3 separate regions of the Homo sapiens genome follow, and all the other regions are linked to region 2. Evidence: promoter capture Hi-C in human tissues and cell types (Jung and others, 2019). All regions are on one chromosome and are shown on one strand. The core of a region is centred on a gene start or on the middle of the fragment in contact, and the rest is flanking DNA. Distances in the headings are between cores, read along the strand shown.

Region 1 (3,727 bases), core at 166-2,665, 720 kb before region 2:
GGGCTGAGGTAGGAGAATCGCTTGAACCCAGTAAGCCGAGATCACGCCATTACATTCCAGCCTGGGCACCACAAGCGACACTGTGTCTAAAAAAAAAAAAAAAAAAAAAAAAATACCCTGTTGCAGGCTTAATATTAGCCTTAGCTTGGAGTCACTAGGTTCAAGCTTTAATGTCCACATCAGTTATTCACTTGGTTTTTGAAACTAAGTGTTAGAAACTCCAGTGAAATTACTCACAATGTTTACATAAAGGAATTTTTAAGATGCTTACTTTTTTTTTCTTTTTTTTGAGCCGGAGTCTCGCTTTGTCACGCAGGCTGGAGCGCGATGATTGGATCTCAGCTCACTGCAACTTCCGCCTCCCGGGTTCAAGCAATTCTCGTGCCTCAGCCTCCCAAGTGGCTGGTACTACAGGCACGTGCCAACACGCCGATAGTTTTCGTATTTTTAGTAGAGACGGGTTTCACCACGTTGGCCAGGCTGGTCTAGAACTCCTGACCACGTGATCCACCTGCCTCGGCCTCCGAAGTGCTGGGATTACAGGCTTGAGCCACCGCGCCCAGCAAGAAAGGGGTTTTGAACCCTAATGCAGTTCCTGTTTTTGTTTCCATCCCCTATTGGCTGGGATCAGACCGCACAATCTAAGCTGATCCTGGTAAGCTTAGACCCAAACTTTTTCCAAATAAAGTAAATGCGCGATTTGCGAGAAAAGGAAAAGGGGGTAGAAGAAGAGGTAGGGTTGATTTACAACTTTTACAACTTATGACCAGAAAGTTGAGTCATTTAAAAGGAACTTAGTTGTCCTAACACCTCTTTACCTCAAGTGATCCGCCCGCCTCGGCCTCCCAAAACGTTGGGATTACAGGCGTGAGCCACAGCGTCCGGCCCCATACATTTTTAATAGGAGAAAAGAGAAACTGTAAACCCAAAGGAACAAAGCTCTTCCCATTCATGAACCCGCACCCCGAGTCAGGATTCTCCCCTGCCCACCCTCCCCTGGTCCCTGCACAATCTGGGAGAGACGCCACGCTGCGGGTGCAGAGCTGCCCAGAGAGGGCTCCAGGCCAGGGTAGTCACCGCGCAGTGAAGAGACAAGACGCCCGGGTGCCGGCTGTCAGCGCAGCTGCCATTTTATGGCTGAACAGGACTGAGGCCGAGCTGAGCAAGGAGAACTGGGGGAGCAGACTGTGGAGCTGACTGCGGGGAGGCCTGAGTCCCGCCACAGCCACTTTTCACCGGTTCCAACCAGTCCCTCTCCTCTCTCGGGATGTCGGACCCTCACTCTCACCATTTTTGGCTTCCAGGAGGTCCCGGTGTCTTAGCTGTGGATCTCCCAATACCTGCAGGACACGGGGCCACACAGCCTGGGCCTTTAGGAGAAGAACCAGACCTGGAGCTCTGACTGCAGCGAGAGACAAAGGCCGCACCAAACCCGGAAACCGTCCTCTTCGCTCCAGCTGCGTTCCTGATTGGATGGTTTCCAGCCCACCATCCCTGATTGGATAATGCTTAAGGCCCCGCCCCCTGAGGCCCTGAGTGACAGTAGATGTGATCAGACGCTGAGCTGAGTGAAGAAAGAGTGACAGCCTAAGCTGCAGCCTTTTCAGGCAGGGCTTCCTTCCTGAGCTGAGCCAGGCCCACCCCAGAGCATGGGAGAATTCTATCTTTTCTTTACTCTCTCTCTTTTTGAATGTATTCAAAAGGTGAACAGAAGTATTTTGCTCTCATATTAATAATACATAAAATTTTTGTTCAAGAGAAAATCAACTTTTACTTTGGCAATAATGTATTATCAATACTAAAGGTAATTTTGATAAAACCTTATAAAAAATCAAATTTGTCATTTTTGACCTCTCGAGATTTACATACATATTTTGTAATCTAATGTAATTTTTTAACTTTTTATATTTTATTTTTATCTACATTCTTTTTATTTTTTCAATTTGAAACAACCTTTAAGTAATTTCAAACTGTTACAAGAGACAAAGAAATCATTTAGGGCCAGTCCGCTGGTGCACGCTTGTAATCCAAGCACTTTGGGAGGCCAAAGTGGGTGGATCACTTCAGGTCAGGAGTTCAAGACCAGCCTGGCCAACATGTTGAATCTCATCTCTAGTAAAAACACAAAAAATTAGCCAGGTGTGGTGGTACACACCTGTAGTCCCAGGTGCTACGGCGGCTGAAGCAGGGGAATCGCTTGAACCCAGGAGGCGGAGGTTGTGTAACGGCCTAAGGGCTTCATCTTGCCTAGACAGAGATGATTCATCAAGACAGGGGAATTTGTGGAGGAAAAGTTAAATATTAAATTTGAACTCAGTTGAACATGGACACAAACAATGGTCACCAAGTCCTGGAACAGGTTATGTGAGCCCCTTGAGGCATTCACCTGCCGACCTTCCCCTGGTCCCTGCACAATCTGGGAGAGACGCCATGCTGCAGGTGCAGAGCTGCCCAAAGTGGGCTCCAGGCCAGGGCACAGTCACAGCGCAGTGAAGAGGCAGGACTTCTGGGGGCCTGGCTGTCAGCGCAGCTGCCATCTTCTGGCTGAATGGGACTGAGGCCAAGCTGGGCAAAGAGAACTGGGCACAGATTGTTTTGGAGAAATCTCTATTTTAATCTATTCCTATACGTTAGTTATTGAAAAACAATAGCCAATCGCAAAAAAAACAAGTTGACTTTTTTGTGTTCCTTGAGCCCAGTTGCAAAGAGCCCAGTTGCAACTGGGCCTCATGCCAAACAACTTGTTACAAAAAGAGCTAGGATCCCAGACTGCACCAAAGCTCCAAAGACCTCTCCTTGTCTGTACAGGGATGGGTGGCCGACTCTGGAGCCCAGGCTGTTGCTTCCTGGTCTGCTGATGAATCCTCCATAGTCTGGTGAGTGTAAAGATATATATTTTTTCTCTTCTCCCCTTCCCATTGCAATGCTCTTATTATATCAATTTGCTTATTATATATGCATTGCCATTTACCTGGGATAAAGCTTGTTTACCCTTAAAGGTATTGTGTGCGTGTCTTTTCTTCTCCCCTCATGTGTTTCCTGCACAGAACATATTTCTCAAAGGCTTCATTTGTTCCTTTTTATTCATTTTTGTTTAATCTTGTCTGCATGCCTTATTTTGGCAAGGTGGTCTTCAAACTCTGATGTTCTTTCTTCTGCTTGGTCAATGCAGCTACAAATACTTTTGTATGCTTCAGGAGGTTCTCATGCTGTGTGTTTTAGCTCCATCAGATCATTTATGTTCCTGTCTAAACCAGTTATTCTAGTTAGCAGTTCCTCTAACCTTTTATCAAGGTTCTTAGCTTCTTTCAATTGGTTTAGAACATGTTCCTTTAGCTCAGCAGAGTTTATTACCCATCTTCTGAAGCCTACTTTTGTCAATTCATCCATCTCATCCTCTGTCCAGTTCTGCACCCTTGCTGAAGAGACATTTTGATAACTTGGAGGAAAAGCCGCACTCTGGCCTTTCAGAGTTCTTTTGTTGATTCTTTCTCATCTTCATGAACTTGTCTAGTTTTGATCTTTGAGGCTGTTGACAACTGAATGGTTGTTTCTGTTTTGTTTTGTTTTGTTTTGAGACAGAGTCTCACTCTGTCACCCAGGCTGGAGGGCAGTGGCACAATCTCGGCTCAATGCAACCTTCGCATCCCAGGTTCAAGTGATTCTCGTGTCTCAGATTCCCGAGTAGCTGGGATTACAGGCATGCAACACAACGCCTGGCTAATTT
Region 2 (3,741 bases), core at 462-2,961:
CATAAGATAATTCATACTGGAGAGAAACCCTACAAATGTGAAGAATGTGGCAAAGCTTTTTAAAAATCCTCAAACCTTACTAATCATAAGATAACTCATACTGGAGAGAAACCCTACAAATGTGAAGAATGTGGAAAAGCTTTTAACCAGTCCTCAACTCTTACTAGACATAAGAGAGTTCATACTGGAGAGAAACCCTACAAATGTGAAGAATGTGGCAAAGCTTATAACTGGTCCTCAAACCTTACTAAACATAAGAAAATTCATACTGGAGAGACACCCTACAAATGTGAAGAATGTGGCAAAGCTTTTAACCAATCTTCAACCCTTACTATACATAAGATAATTCATATTGGAGAATAACACTACAAATGTAAAAAATGTGGCAAACCTTATAACCAGTACTCATACTTTACTACACATAGGAGAATTCATGCGGAAGAGAATTTCTACAAATGTGAAGAATGTGGCAAAGGCTTTGACTGGTCCTCTACCCTTACTAAAGATAAAAGAGTTTGACTGGGTGCGGTGGCTCATGCCTGTAATCCCAGCACTTTGGGAGGCTGAGGCAGGCAGATCACCTGGTCAATGGTCCTCTACCCTTACTAAAGATAAAAGAGTTTGACTGGGTGCGGTGGCTCATGCCTGTAATCCCAGCACTTTGGGAGGCTGAGGCAGGCAGATCACCTGGTCAAGAGTTCAAGACCAGCCTGGCCCATATGGTGAAACCCCATCTCTACTAAAAATATAAAAAATTAGCCAGGTGTAGTGGTGCACACCTGTAGTCCCAGCTACTCTGGAGGCCTAGGTGGGAGAATCGCTTGAACCCAGGAGGTGGAGGTTGCAGTGAGCTGAGATGGCTCCACTGCACTCCAGCCTGGATGACAGAGAGAGACTCTATCTCCAAAAAAATAAATAAATAAATAAAAAAAATAAGAGAGTTCATACTAGAGAGAAACCCTGCAAATGTGAAGAATGTGAGAAAGCTCTTAACCAGTCCTCACACCTTACTGCACATAAGAGAAATCATACTGGAAGGAAACCCTACAAATGTAAAGAATGTGAGAAAGCTTTTAACTGGTACTCATGCCTTACTGCACATAAGATAATTCATACTGGAGAGAAACTCTACAAATGTCAAGAATGTGGCAAAGCTTTTAACCGGTACTCAACCCTTACTACACATAAGGTAATTCATGCTGGAGAGATACCCTACAAATGTGAAGAATGTGGCAAAGGTTTTTATTGATTCTCATACTTTACTAAAAATAAGGTGATTCATTCTGGAGAGAAATTCTACAAATGTGAAGAATGTGGCAAAGGCTTTAATTTGTCCTCAACACTTACTAAACAGAATTCATAGCAGAGAGAAATCCTACAAATATGAAGAATGTCACAAAGCTTTTAACCACTTCTCAACCCTGATGACACATAAGGTAATTCGTGCTGGAGAGAAACCCTACAAATATGAAGAATATCTCAAAACTTTTTATAGATTCTCATACCTTATTAAACATAAAATCTTACAGGAGAGAAATTATACAAATGTGAAGAATGTGGCAAAGCTTTTAAGAAATCCTCATCCATTACTAAACAAGATAATTTGTACTGGAGAGAAAACCTACAAACGTGAGGAATGTGGCAAAGCCTTTAATGGTCCCCTCAACTTTCTGCACATAAGATAATTTATACTGTGGAGAAGCCTTACAAATGTGAAAAATGTAGCAAACCTTTTAACTAATCCTCAACCCTTACTACACATAAGATAATTAATGCTGGAGGGAAATCCCACCCATGTGGCAAAGCTTTTAATCAATCCTCAAACCTTACTAAACATAAGATAACTCATACTGGAGAAAAATCTTAGAAATGTGAAGGATGTGGTAAAGCCGTTATCCAGTCCTCAACTCCCACTAAACATAACATAATTCATACTGGAGAGAAACCTCACAACTGTGAAGAATGTGGCAAAGCTTTTAACCAGTCCTACAAACCTTTTTGAACAAAATAATTCATACAGGAGAGAAACACTACAAATGTGAGGAATGTGACAAAGCCTTTAACCAGTCCTCAATTCTTACCAAACATAAGAAAATTCATATTGGAGATTAACCTTATGAGTGTGAAAAATATGGCAAAAGCTTTAACTAGTTCTCAGTTATTATTATTATTTTTAGAGATGGAGTTTCACTCTTGTTGCCAAGGCTGCAATACTGTGGCATGATTTCAGCTCACTGCAACCTCCGTCTCCCAGGTTTAAGCAATTCTGCCTCAGCCTCCCGAGTAGCTGGGATTACAGGCATGCACCACTATACCCATCTAATTTTGTATGTTTAGCAGAGATGGGGTTTCTCCATGTAGATCAGGCTGGTCTTGAACTCCTGACCTTGTAATCTGCCCACCTCAGCCTCCCAAAGTGCTGGGATTACAGGCATGAGCCACCACGCTCAGCCACTAGTCCTCAGATCTTAACACACATAAGATAATTCATACTGGAAAGAAACTCCACAAACCAGAAAGATGCAATAATGCTTTTGACAACACCTCAAGCTTTTCTAACCATAAAAAGAATCATATTGGTGAGAAATCCTAGAAATGTGAAGAATGTGACAAAGTCTTTAAATGGTTGTCATACTTGACTTTTTTCTTTTTTTGAGATGAAGTCTCACTCTTGTCCCCCAGGCTGGTGTGCAATGGCATGATGTCGGCTCACTGCAAACTCCGCCTCCCAGGTTCAAGTGATTCTCCTACCTCAGCCTCCCAAGTAGCTGGGATTACAGGCACCTGCCACCACGCCTGGCTAATTTTTGTACTTTTAGTAGAGATGGGGTATGACCATCTTGGCCAGGCTGGTCTCAAACTCCTGACCTCAGGTGATCCGCCCACCTCGGGCCTCCCAAAGTGCTGGGATTACAGGCATGAGCCACCACTCCCTGCCTTACTTGATTACATTCAATATAATTCATACTGGAAAGAAATCCTACAAGTGAGAGCAATGTGGCAAAACTTAACCACCTTATTGCACAGAAAAGCATTTATGTTTGAGAAAAATTATACAAATACAGACTGTGAAAAAGACATTAATATCTGCTTACATCTTAACACCAGAGAGTTCATACTTAATAAAAGCAAGATAAGGGCAATTACTGTCAAAAGGTCTTTCAGAAAAATATAACCCTTTAAAGTGAAGAAGAGAATTTATATTGAAGATGGACATTACAAACATAAAGAGGGTTGTAGTACCTTTACTTGAATCAAATTTTATTGTACACATTTTGTACTAGAGGAAAACTCTGAAGCAGTTGCTCAAGCTTTGTTCAACATTAGGGCACTTATATTGGAAAAGTGTCTTGCAGATATAATAAATGTGGAAAAACACTTTTTCAAAAACTACATCAGAAAACACCAGAGTTTATACTGAAGAATATTTTTGAAGATGCACTAAAAATGAAAAAATATTTAATCCAAATTAGGGCTATGTAAATATCAGAATTTATAATAGAAATATATAAGGAACTGACACTGCAGATATACTAAGTCAAGAGTTCTGAGTATAGAAAATAATCTAAAACTAAAGTTGATAGAAAAAGTATTTGTATATAAATTTAAGAGGAGTAAAAGATTTTTTGCAGAGTAATAACTACATTCTAAGTATACTTTATTTCTTGAAAAAATTACAGACTTTGAAAGCAAATGATGTAATTCAACACTCATTTTCTGGTGTTTCTTCATTCTTATTCA
Region 3 (4,151 bases), core at 356-2,855, 610 kb before region 2:
AGGAGAACTGGGAGTGATCCCATCTCAGGATATGGGAAATCCTTGAGCCTCCAGCCCTATCCTTCTGGTCAAAAAGGGGCCCACTTTTGTTTTCAAATCCTGTTTGTGATGCCAAAAATGTTCTGTATGGGAAACGTGGGAGAGGAGAAGAAAAGACATACATACAATAACTTTAATGGTAAACAAGCTTTAACCCACATCAATATCAATGCAGACAGAATAAACTAATGATATAATAAGCAAATGATATAATAAGCAAATAAATATAATACACAGATTGATATAATAAGCAAATTGCAGTAAGAAGAGGAGATGGGAAAAGATATATATATATATTTACCCTCACTAGACTATGGAGGATTACCAACTGAGTAGGAAGAAACAGCCCAGGCTCCAGAGTCGGCCACCCATTCATGCACAGACAAGGAGTCTCATGAAGCTTCAGGGTGGTCTGGGACCCTAGCTCTTTTGTAACGAGTTGTTTGGCATAAGGCCCAGTGAGGAGGGCCATTTGGGACTTGCCTCACGGAACACAAAAGGGTCAAGTTGTTTTTGTGATTGTCTATTGTTTTTCAACAACTAATGTATAGTAATAGAATGAAATAGACATTTCTTTGATACAGCTCTGGATGAACACCTCAGGGGCTCACAACCAGGACCTGTTCTGGGACTTGGTGACCATTGTGTCCACGTTCAATTGAGTTCAAATTTAACATTTAACTTTTCCTCCATAAATTCTCCTGTCTTCATGAATTGGCTCTGTCTAGGCAAAGGGCAAAATGAACCCCTTGGGCTGTTACATAACCTCCACCTCCTGGGTTCAAGTGATTCTCCTGCCTCAGCCTCCGGAGTAGCTGGGACCACAGATGTGCACCACCATACCCAGCTAATTTTTTACATTGTGAGTAGAGATGGGGTTTCACCATGTTGGCCAGGCTAGTCTTGAACTCCTGACCTCAAGTGATCCACCCACCTTGGCCTCCCAAAGTGTTGGGATTACTGGCATGAGCTACCTGTGCCTGACCCTAAATTATTTCTATCTCTTATAGCAGTTTGAAATTACTTAAAGGTTGTTTCAAGTTGAAAAAATAAGAAGAATGTGGATAAAAATAAAATATAAATAGATAAAAAAATTACAGGGATTACAAAATATATATGTAAATCTGGAGTGGTCAAAAATGACAAATTTGATTTATTTATAAGGTTTTATTAAAATTAGCTTTAATCGTTAATACACTATTACCAAAGTAAAAGCTGATTTTCTCTTGAACAAAAATTTTATGTATTATTAATATGACAGCAAAATACTTCTGTTCACCTTTGAATACATTCAACAAGACAGAGAGTAAAAAAGAGATAAAATGTTCCCATGCTCTGGCATGGACCAGGCTCAGCTCTGGGAGGAAGCCCTGCCTGAAAAGGCTGCAGCTTAGGCTGTCACTCTTTTCTTCACTCCGCCCAGCAGCTGATCACATCTTCTGTCACTCAGTGTCTGAGGGGGCGGGACCTTAAGCATTAGCCAATCAGAGGCGCTGGGCTGGAAACCGTCCAATCAGGCACGCAGCTGGAATGAACAGGACGGCTTCCGGATTTGGCGGGGTCTTTGTCTCTCCCTGCAGCTGGAGCTCCAGGTCGTCTGTTCACTGCTCTCTGTCTTCTTCTCCTAGAGGCCCAGCCTCTGTGGCCCTGTGTCCTGCAGGTATTGGGAGATCCACAGCTAAGACGCCAGGACCCCCTGGAAGCCTAGAAATGGTGAGAGTGCCGGTCCAGCATCCCGAGAGAGGTGAAGTGTCTGTGGCGGGACTCAGGCCTCCCCTCAGTCAGCTCCACAATCTGCACCCCGAATTCTCCTTACCCAGCTCTGCCTCAGTCCCATTCAGCCATAAGATGGCGGCTACGCTGACAGCCTGGCCCCCGGGCGTCCTGTCGCTTCCCCGCGCAGTGACTGTGCCCCTGGCCTGGAGCGCTCTGTGGGCAGCTCTGCACCCGCAGTGCCGTGTCTCTCCCAGATTGTGCAGGGACCACCGGAGGGTCTTCAGGGGAGAATGCTGACTCGCGGTGCGGGTTCATGAATGGGAAGAGCTTTGGTCTGTGGGGTTCACAGTTTCTCTTTTCTGCTATTAAAATTGTATGGGGCCGGGCGCGGTCGTTCAAGCCTGTAATCCCCGCACGTTGGGAGGCCGAGGCGGGCGGATCACTTGAGGTCAGGAGTTGAAGACCAGACTGACCAAAATGGGGAAACCCCTTGTCTACTAAAAATACAAAAATTAGGTGGATATGTTGGCGAATGTCTGTAGTCCCAGCTTCTCGGGAGGCAGAAGTGAGAGAATCGCTTGAACCCGGGAGGCGGAGGTTGCAGTGAGCTGAAATCCTGCCACTGCACTCCAGCCTGGGCGACAGAGCAAGACTCTTGTCTAAAAAAAAAAAAAAAAAAAAAAAATTATGGGAGTCACTGCAAAAATATCAAACAATTTAATCAAAGAGTGATTCAAGAATTGTAGAGCACCCAGCTATAGTTTGTAGTTTGTGGTCCATGGGAGAGGCTTGAAGAAAAGACATTTATAAAATGCATGATGAGGAAAACCAAATTCAATAATTTGTTAGGTTTAGTAATGTAGTTTCTTAATTTGTACAATCAAGGTGGAAATTTCCTGGTTATGTAATTAGAGCTTAATTGGCAGTTTATAGTTGCTGAAGCCTGAATTTTGTTTCCCCTAATGTAGTAATTTGCCAAAAAATGCACTTGAGCTTAGATTTTTTTTTTTTTTTTTTTTTAGAAATAGAAATCCGGGGACTAGAGCCTCTTCAGTCTAATTGCCTGCCACTTAATTATTTTCACATCCCACAGGGGACTGACTTTCCCTGGCATTTTTCACATGTGTCCCAAGCAGGGCCTCAAGTGTCCCCCATGTTCCTCAATTAATTATTATTATTATTATTATTTTTTGAGACGGAGTCTTGCTCTGTCGCCAGGCTAGAGTGCAGTGTCAGATCTTGGCTCACTGCAACCTCCACCTCATGGGTTCAAGCGATTCTCCTGCTTCAGCCTCTCCAGTAGTTGGGACTACAGGCAAGCGCCACCACTCCCAGCTAGTTTTCATATTTTTAGTAGAGATGAGGTTTCACCATGTTTGCCAGGAATGCTAGTTACCAAGGAAAAATATAGGGAAAATCTCTCTTCCATTTTGGCTGTAGACAATGAATATATTTCCACAGGAAAATGTGGTAGATAATTGAGGAGTTACATGGATTCATCAACACATTAGTTCCTCTTTTTGCAGGGTAAATTTTTTCTATATCCTTTTATTTTGATTTCTGAGTTAAATGCTAAATTTTAAGTGATGAAACATGGTACCTTCTAGAAGTGTTCCCATATGACTAATTTTTTACTACATTATTTTATTTATTTACTTATTTTTTTGAAACAGAGTCTCACTCCGTCACCAGGTTGGAGTGCAGTGGCGTGATCTCGGCTCACGCAACCTCTGCCTCCCAGGTTCAAGCAGTTCTCCTGCCTCAGCCTCCCAAGTAGCTGGGATTACAGGTGTGTGTCACCACGTCCAGCCAATTTTTTTGTGTTTTTAGTAGAGACAGGGTTTCACCATGTTGGCCAAAATGTTCTCAATCTTCTGACCTCGTGATCTACCCACCTTGGCCTTCCAAAGTGTTGGGATTAGAGGCGTGAGCCACAGTGCCCGGCCTACTGCATTATTTTTAAGATAAATAATAAAATAATACATACATTGTCTGAAAGAAGTAGATATATATGCTTTTCTTATAGGGGTATAAAATGCAAGCATCTTAGCCAGGTGCAGTGGCTCATGCCTGTAGTTTCAGCACTTTGGGAGGCCTAGACAGGTTGATTACTTGAGGTCAGGAATTTGAGACCAGCCTGCCCAACATGGTGAAACTCATCTCTACTAAAAATACAAAAGTTAGCCAGGTGTGGTGGCATATGCCTGTATTCCCAGCTACTTGGGAGGCTGAGGAACAAGAATGTCTTGAACCCGGGAGGTGGAGGTTGCAGTGAGCCGAGATCATGCCACTGAACTCCAGCCTGGGCCACAGAGTGAGACTTCGTCTCAAAAAAAAAAAAAAAAAAGTAAGAACCTTAAAATTTCCTTCCCTTATGTAAACACTGCGTTTGAGTA

The links. Contacts are between HindIII fragments. The study calls those that stand out against the background at their distance.
Region 1: the fragment with the promoter of ZNF626 here is called in contact with a fragment that was not itself captured in region 2 in 2 of the 25 tissues and cell types used here (H1 embryonic stem cells and mesenchymal stem cells).
Region 3: a contact is called between the fragment with the promoter of ZNF66 here and a fragment that was not itself captured in region 2, in 3 of the 25 tissues and cell types used here (aorta, spleen and thymus).

Annotation. Positions count from the first base shown.
Region 1 is chr19:20,660,156-20,663,882 of GRCh38, forward strand. It overlaps ZNF626 (zinc finger protein 626), which reads right to left and starts at 1,416. Exons shown (of 4, transcript NM_001076675.3): 1 at 1,289-1,416. The coding sequence starts at 1,291. RefSeq lists a silencer at 1,541-1,610. The HindIII fragment of the contact is 1,409 bases long and covers 413-1,821 here.
Region 2 is chr19:21,384,552-21,388,292 of GRCh38, forward strand. It overlaps ZNF738 (zinc finger protein 738), which reads left to right. Exons shown (of 5, transcript NM_001355237.2): 5 at 1-3,741. Among named protein-coding and RNA genes, the nearest start is that of ZNF493, 11 kb to the right of the region's middle. The HindIII fragment of the contact is 5,408 bases long and covers 1-3,741 here.
Region 3 is chr19:20,774,699-20,778,849 of GRCh38, forward strand. ZNF66 (zinc finger protein 66) reads left to right here and starts at 1,606. Exons shown (of 4, transcript NM_001355197.2): 1 at 1,606-1,752. The coding sequence starts at 1,750. The HindIII fragment of the contact is 10,177 bases long and covers 1-4,151 here.